Linked DNA regions of Homo sapiens: region 2 is linked to region 1. Evidence: promoter capture Hi-C in 16 types of primary human blood cells and fetal thymus (Javierre and others, 2016). All regions are on one chromosome and are shown on one strand. The core of a region is centred on a gene start or on the middle of the fragment in contact, and the rest is flanking DNA. Distances in the headings are between cores, read along the strand shown.

The links. Contacts are between HindIII fragments. The CHiCAGO score rates a contact against its expected background, and 5 or more counts as called.
Region 2: a fragment that was not itself captured here is called in contact with the fragment with the promoter of ACAT1 in region 1 in 5 of 17 cell types (naive CD4 T cells, activated CD4 T cells, total CD4 T cells and 2 more); the score reaches 6.3 in naive CD4 T cells.

What each region holds. Positions count from the first base shown.
Region 1 is chr11:108,120,317-108,124,374 of GRCh38, reverse strand. ACAT1 (acetyl-CoA acetyltransferase 1) reads right to left here and starts at 2,808. Exons shown (of 12, transcript NM_000019.4): 1 at 2,697-2,808. The coding sequence starts at 2,768. RefSeq lists enhancers at 132-191, 252-371 and silencers at 2,597-3,006, 2,608-3,146. The HindIII fragment of the contact is 9,706 bases long and covers 2,637-4,058 here.
Region 2 is chr11:108,686,038-108,690,095 of GRCh38, reverse strand. DDX10 (DEAD-box helicase 10) reads right to left here. Exons shown (of 18, transcript NM_004398.4): 7 at 1,034-1,160. Among named protein-coding and RNA genes, the nearest start is that of DDX10, 23 kb to the right of the region's middle. The HindIII fragment of the contact is 4,453 bases long and covers 1-4,058 here.

The sequences.
Region 1 (4,058 bases), core at 1,559-4,058:
GGAGAACTGCTTGAACCCGGGAGGCCAAGGTTGCAGTAAGCCAAGATCGTGCCACTGCACTCCAGCCTGGGCAACAAGAGCGAAACTTGATCTCAAAAAATAAAAAAGAAAGAAAGAAATTAGCAACAGGAAGGAAGTAGCATACAGGCTGTTAGGTCAAAGGGAAGAAGCAAGGTTACCAAAGCCAAGGGGTCAGGATCCCAGCAGAAGCGGGAACCACAAGAGAGACAGACACTGCCAGATACAGACAGACAGACAAATTATTCTGGCTTCTCCCTTCCTCCTATCTTCCAATCTTCCACTGGTGCCTTCCAGTGGCTACACCCAGCCAGAAGCCAGCTGATATTGGTCAGCCTACAGTAATGCAGACAGACTAGGGGAGGGAAGATAAATGAATCTGGGAGCAAATAAGCCCAAGACTGGCACAATACAGGAATTTTTTTTTAAGTCTGAGTATTAAAAGAAGCTGAATAAAACTGGATCAAAACACAAAACAGTTTCAAGAAGGGAGTGGTCAATAGTGTCAAATATAGGATAAAGGTCAAGAAGAAAAAACTTGGGCTGAGCACAATGGCTCACACCTGTAATCCCAGCACTTTGGCAGGCCAGGAGTTCAAGACCAGCCTGGCCAACAGAACCAGACCCCGTGTCTACAAAAACTAAAATTAAAATAGATTTAAAAAAATAATTAAAAAACAAAGAAAAAGGAAATCACTGTATTTTTCAGCTTCAGTGGCAAAGAAATTTAACTGCAGAGAGTTAAGGAGAAATAGATGCAGAATACATGGGAGGTAATGAGTAAAGACCACTCCTTTGACCAGAGAGAGAAAAGTGATTAGAGCTAGAAAGGCAATGTGCTCCAATAAAGTCCATAAAGATTTGTTGACCATAAAAGAGACCTGGTAAGCAAAGGGAAAAGAGCCAATGTAATGAGAGGTCAAATTCCATTCTACAAAATAGCACAGAAAACTGGAAATCCTGTTTATAGTTCAGTAAATGACCATTTAATTCAAGTGTCCAATACAACTGCTTCCTAGAGTTCAGTAATATGAATGTCACATATCATACATTACAGCATGTACAGGCTTATTTTTTTCATGAGGAGTATTTGTGTTTCATTTTAAGATCTTTTTTTTTAAGACGGAGTCTCACTCTGTTGCCCAGGCTGGAGTGCAGTGGCATGATCTCAGCTCACTGCAACCTTCCCCTCCTCCCGGGTTCAAGCGATTCTCCTGCCTCAGCCTCCCAAGTAGCTGGGATTACAGGCGCCTGCCACCACACCCAGCTAATTTTTGTGTGTGTGTGTATTTTTAATAGAGGTGGGGCTTCACCACGTTGGCCAGGCTGGTCTTGAACTCTTGACCTCAAATGATCTACCCACCCCGGCCTCCCAAAGTGCTGGGATTACTGGCATAAGCCACCTCAACCAACCTGATTGTAAGATCTTAATTAAACCATAAATTAAGAAGGTTCTGAACTTTTTTTTTTTACATCTCTAGAGTACCTAGTTCACCTATGTCACCTAGTCAATACTGACTGAAACCCAAGATAACCTAATTACTTTCTTGTGATTTCTTCACTCATCCCATGAGACTAACAAATAGGCTAAAAACTCATCTTCCCTGGAAACCTACGCCTTGTGACTTTTCTATTATCTCAGTCACCCAGGATCAATTTTAGACTCTTTCTTTTCCCTTGGCTTCGCACCCTCACTCCCTAATTGTCAAGTCCTAGACTGGTTCTTTTACAATCTCTTGCAAAGCTCCTACCGCCAGCACCCTTGTGCAAGTAATGTTATTCTACGCCCAGACGTAAGAACTAGAGTGACCTACCATTGCAACAAAAACAAACATATCAACAATCCCTACTTAACTAGGGTCAAGTCCATACTCACAACATAACTGGATCTCCAAGCTTATTGCCCCCATCGACCTAGAAAACTCAAGCTTCACCAACCACACCCTGAAGGTCTCTACCTATTCCTGAGGCTTTGCCTGACAATCTGTGGTGCGTACTCCCTTGCTTACGCATGTGGAGAATAAATTCTTTGAGACTCTGCCCCTGCTGTGTTCCCTAAACACAACGGTCAGAAGAGCGACAGCCCTTGGAACGCCCTCAGTATGTGAGCTTTGCTCATATGTCAAGTATAATTTATTGTATTATCTGAGTAGTCATTTGTTTTCCCTGATAAATTTCAGGCTGCTCCAAAAAACATCTGTTATGATCACATGGTGCCCTCTCCCCTTGTATGCCCAATGATTATCTATTGTATTAAAAAAGAAAAGGAACCTCTCCTGACAATAACGCACACAAATATGTTTTAAAGAAAATCTCGGGAGCAGCTGCACAGGCCTGCAAAGAGACTCTCCCCGATCCCACCGCTCAGGCCGGGCCAGCGCCAATCCTGGCGGTCCTGCCCGCCCAGACACGTGCCCTTGTTTGACACACCAGTAACGCTCATTAAGATGATTACGCCGAGACCTTGGAAGTAGAAACGCGCTGTAAAAATAGGCGAGTCCCTGGGTGTTATCGGAGCACTTAGGCGGTTTTTGGACCAGAACCCGTCGCGTGACTGTCCTGGGGCCTAAGCCGCGCGCCCGGGCCGCGGGAGCCGCAACGGCCGCGGGCTGGAAGCTTCCGAGGCGGGGACTCCTCGCATCCCGGGTCTGAGTGCTGTGGGGACGAACCCCGCTCACCTGCACCAGCCTCCGGAGCAGGGGGCTGCGGCTGCGGGCGCCGCTGCGCAGAAGTGCCGCCAGCACAGCCATGGTCGCAGAGGGCTGAGTATCGGCTCCACAGGCGTAGACTAGCGGCCTCCTCCCCAACCCCGCACCCCTAGCGGCCCGGCGCGGGCACCGCCCATCCCGCTTCCTCCAATAGTCGCCTCTCAGTCGGCGGCGATTGGCCGGCAGCCAAGGGCGGGGCGGAGCCTGGCGCTGGGACACCGCAGCCTGGGCCAGGAAAGGTTGACGAGTGAAGGACGTGGATGGAGACACTGGCGCTGGGGTCAACGAGCACCTGACACGCTGCTGGCTCCCGTGTCCACCAAGTCTAACCTGCCGGGGCCGGTGGTTTATGTGTAATCCGAGATTTTTCGATTTACTGAGCATGTTTCCCTTAGGCCTACCCAGCACAAACTCATGAAAATATTTTAGGATTTTTTTTTTTTTTTTTGAGACAAGGTCTCACTCTGTCACCCAAGCTGGAGTGCAGTGACGTGACCACAGCTCACTGTAATCTCGACCATCAGGGCTCAAGCGATCCTCCCTCCCCAGCCATCCCAGTAGCTGAGACTACAGGCGAAAGCCTCCACAACCAGATAATTTTTGTATTTTTTGTGGAGACGGGGTTTCACCATGTTGGCCAGACTGGTCTTGAACTCCTGGACTCAAGTGAGCCTCCCTCCTCGGCCTCCCAAAGTGCTGGGATTACAGGCGCAGGCGACCACGCCCAGCAAATTGTTGTATTTTTTTTTTTTTGTAGAGACTAGGTCTCCCTATGTTGCCTAGGCTGGTTGCTGACTCCTGGGCTCAAGCAGACGGCCAGACTCAGCCTCTCAAAGTGCTGGGATTACAGGCGTGAGCCATCACACCCAGCCGTGAAAATATTTTGAAGCAATCAAATTCCAGGCTCAGTCCAGATACAAATATGGGTAAAAAGGCCTCAGGTGATTCCAGTCCCCAACCTTCAACCACTCCAGCTGAGACCCCAGACATCATGGAGCAGAGACAAGCCATACCCACCATGCTGTCTGAATTCATGGTCCACAGAAACGAGAGAAAACAAATGGTTGTTATTTTAGGCCATTATGTTTTGGAGTATTTTTTTTTTTTAAGATAGGGTCTCGCTCTTGTCACCCAGTCTGGAGTACAGTGGTGCAATCATATCTCACTGCAGCCTCAAACTCCTGGTCTCAGGGGATCCTCCTGTCTCTGCCTCCCAAGTAGCTAGGGGATCCTCCTGTCTCTGCTTCCCAAGTAGCTACGTAGCTAGGACTACAGGCATGCTCCACCATGCTAATTTTTTTAATTTTTATTTTATATAGAGAAGGGGTCTTG
Region 2 (4,058 bases), core at 972-3,471, 570 kb before region 1:
ATCTAAAATCGGTCCTTGAAAAACTGAAGTCTTTTTTTTTTTTTTAAAGACAGGGTGTCGCCATCTTGCCCAAGCTGGTCTTAAACTTCTAGACTCAAGCAATCCTCCTACCTCAGCCTCTTAAAGTGCTGGGATTACAGGCGTGAGCCACCGCACCAAGGCTGAAGTCATTCTTTACATGGTAAAATAAGGTTCAGTAGACAACAGCATCAGATCACCACTTAACTTCCCATAAGCTAGAGAGAAACCCATCTACATATTTATCATGGAAAGTTATTGCAAAAGCTGTAAATCTAGAATTGATCTACTACATTCCCTATTAAGTCATTGGGAATCTGAAATATAGTACAGGAGAAGAGGCACACGCACGCACACATGCACAAAGACCGTAGTCCCTTCTCCTTAAGAGAGGAGACAAAGTTCTCTTAGACATCTCTGAAATCCTTATTCTTTATTCCTAGCACAGGGCTAGTGTTCAAGAAGTGTTTATTAACTAAGATATAAACAAAACACTTCAGAAGGTTAGGGGAGGGAACAACTGATTCTTTAAAAAGGGAGTGTCAGAAAGGGACTTTCAGGCATAACATTTGAACTTAGCCTCAAAGTAAGTATTTCCCCAGATTTAGATGAAGAGATGCAGGGAGGGCATTCCAGACAGATCAGCATAAACAAAGATATACGGCATGGAAATAAATGGTATATTCATTCCCATATTCTTGGAGGGTAAGGGAGGTATCAGATTATAAAGACCTCTGCTTAGCTTGGATAACAATTATTCATTCTACTAATATTTATTGAGGACTACATTTCCAGTATTGTTAGCACTTAACATAATACCTAAGAAAAGACACAGTTTCTGTCCTTGTGGAGTTGAAAGTCTCAGCCACGGATTCCTTTGCAACAAGGACACGAAAGATCCCTCACCACACCTAGCACTGTACTTCTCGTACAATATAATAATTTGTCTAATTGATTTGCCATTTCAAAAGGGACATTCAACATACGTTCAGAAAGCAAAATAAACAGCCAATACCTCTTTGCAACTGGAAAAAAATACAATGCTCTTCTTCTTCAGATGGCTTCTCAAAAAGGAATACAGCACACTTATTTTTTGCTGCAGCTCACAGACTATGTAGTTCTGTTCCAAAGTGGCAGGGGTGCTTGTGGAATTACGGAAAAGAAAAACATTAGAATATGTCATGTAAGTAACTGAAATCCAGACCAAAAAAGGAAACAAGTTTTAATAGTGGCACATCTCTCAAGCAAATTTCCTACACACATACACCAAAAAAAGAATTTTTCTCTATTGTCCCTTAGGAAACAAATTCAACACATTACTTTAAAACACATTCAAAATCCCTTGTAAATCAATGTCAAACAAAGCATGACAAGAACAGTGATTACCTCTAAAAATGCAGGGTCAAGGATTAACTAAGAAGAGGTGTAAGAGAACTTGCTGGGCTGATTAGTATTCCACATCTCATTAGGGCTTTAGATTACTGAGATATACACATTCATCAAATTCAACTGTATACTTACAATTTTCATATTTCATGGTACACAAATTTTATGCCAAAAGAAAAAAAATCTGTTCAAATATTAAACTCTCAGTAATACGTGTGCTGAAGTATTTGGAGAGAATACAGATATCTGCAATTTACCCTGAAATCCATCAAAAATAAAATGGGTTAATATAGAAGGGATGGATGAAAGCAAGTAAATGGATGCTACCATTAGATAGTATCTAGGTGTTTGGTATAAGGTATTTATGGTAGAAGTCTTTCAATGTACCATATGTTTGAAATTTCATTATAAAATGTTGGAGAAAAATATACATGCATTTACTCTTTGAATTAATAAACCTACTTTATTCCAACATTACTCTGGTTTTAAACACACACATATACACACACACAAATATATGGCATTATTTATGAAGCAAAAAATGATGAAAATCAACCCAAATGTCCATCAGTAGGGACTTGCAGTATGAACAATTACACAGCCACATACATTAATTATTATGCAACTGTAAAAAAGGAATGAAGATTCTATCCATATATTGCTGAGGAGTGATGTCTAGGACACACTGTTAAGGAAAGAGGTAAGGGGCAGAATAGTACAGATAGTTTGGTACTATTTATCAGGGGGCTATACATTATATATCCATATACATGCCCACCCATGTGTGTCTGTGTTTACAGTGAAAGAAAAAAGGAGGAGGGACAGACAAACCAAAAACTACAAGTCAACTGGTTTTAGATATGACTAAGTTATGATCCACAAAGGGAAGAATTGATAAGCTGGACTTCATTAAAATTAAATGTTTCTGATCTGTGAAACACACTATCAAAAGAATTAGAAGATAAGCCACGGAATGGAGAAAAATATTTGCAAAAAACATCTGATAAAGGACTGTTCTCCAAAATATACAAACAACTCTTAAAATTCAACAATAAGAACAGAAACACCCAATTTTAAAAGGGGGAAGGAGGCCAAAAATCTTAACAGACACCTCTCCAAAGAGGATATGTAGATAAAAAAAATAACCATATGAAAAGATGCTACACCAGCCTGGGCAACATGGTGAAACCCCATCTCTACAAAAAAATACAAAAGTTAGCTGGGCATGGTGGCATGTGCCTATAGTCCCAGCTACCTGGGAGGCTGAAGCAGGAGCATCAATTCAGGCTAGGGAGTTCGAGGCTGCAGTGAGCCATGATCATGCTACACTGCACTCTAGCCTGGGTGACAGAGTAAGACCTTGTCTCAAAAAAATAAAAAACAATTTAAAGATGATCCATATCATATGTCAACAGGCAAAAGTTAATTAAAATAACGATATGTCACTTCACACTTATTAGATGGCCAAAATCCAGAACAGTGACGACACCAAACGCTGGCAAGGATGTGGAGCCACAGGAACTATCCTTCACTGCTGGCAGAAATGCAAAATGATACTGCCATTTTGGAAGACAGTATAGCAGTCTCTTAAAACCAAACATACTTGAGGCCGGGCGCAGTGACTCATGCCTGTAATCCCAGCACTTTGGGAGGCTGAGGCAGGCAGATCACGAGGTCAGGAGATCGAGACCATCCTGGCAAACACAGTGAGACCCCATCTCTACTAAAAGTACAAAAAAAGTAGCCGGGCGTGGTGGCGGGCACCTGTAGTCCCAGCTACTTGGGAGGCTGAGGCAGGAGAATGGCATGAACCCGAGGGGCAGAGCTTGCAGTGAAGGGAGATTATGCCACTGCACTCCAGCCTGGGCGACAGAGCAAGACTCTGTCTCAAAAAAACATACTTTTAGTACCTGACCCAACTATCACGTTCCTTGGTATTTACCAAAAAGAGTTGAAAACATACGTCCACACAAAGATCTGCAAAAGGATGTTTATTGCAGCTTTATTCATAATTGCCAAAACTTGAAGGCAATCAAGATGTCCTTCAGTAAGTGAATGGATAAATAAACTGTGGTACATCCAGACAATGGAATATTATTCAGTGCTAAAATGAAATGAGCTATCATATCACTCCATGAAAAGACATGGAGCAATCTTAAATGCGTAATATTAAGTGAAAGCAACCAATACGAAAAGGCTACCATACTGTATGGTTCCAACTATACAACATTCTGAAAAGATGACACTATGGAGACAGTAAAAAGATCAGCGGCTGCCAGGGGAGATGAATAAATGAATAGGCAGAGCACAGAGGACTTTCAGGGCAGTGAATATACTGTGAAATACTATAACAGTAGACATATGTTATCATAAATTTGTCCAAATCAATGGGCTGTACCACACCAAGAGTGAACCCTAAAGTAACAGACTTTGGGTGATAAGGATGCAAAAACATAGGTCCATCCATTGTAGCAAATGCACCACCATTCTAGCAAGAGTGTTGATAATGGCAGAGGCTGCATGGGGACAGCAGGTATGTGGCAAATCTCTGTACCTTCCTTTCAATTTTGAGATTAACCTAAAACTGCTCTAAAAAAACAGTCTTTAAAGAAGAAATAGGCCATATCTATAGGGAATTATGGGAAACAGAATGA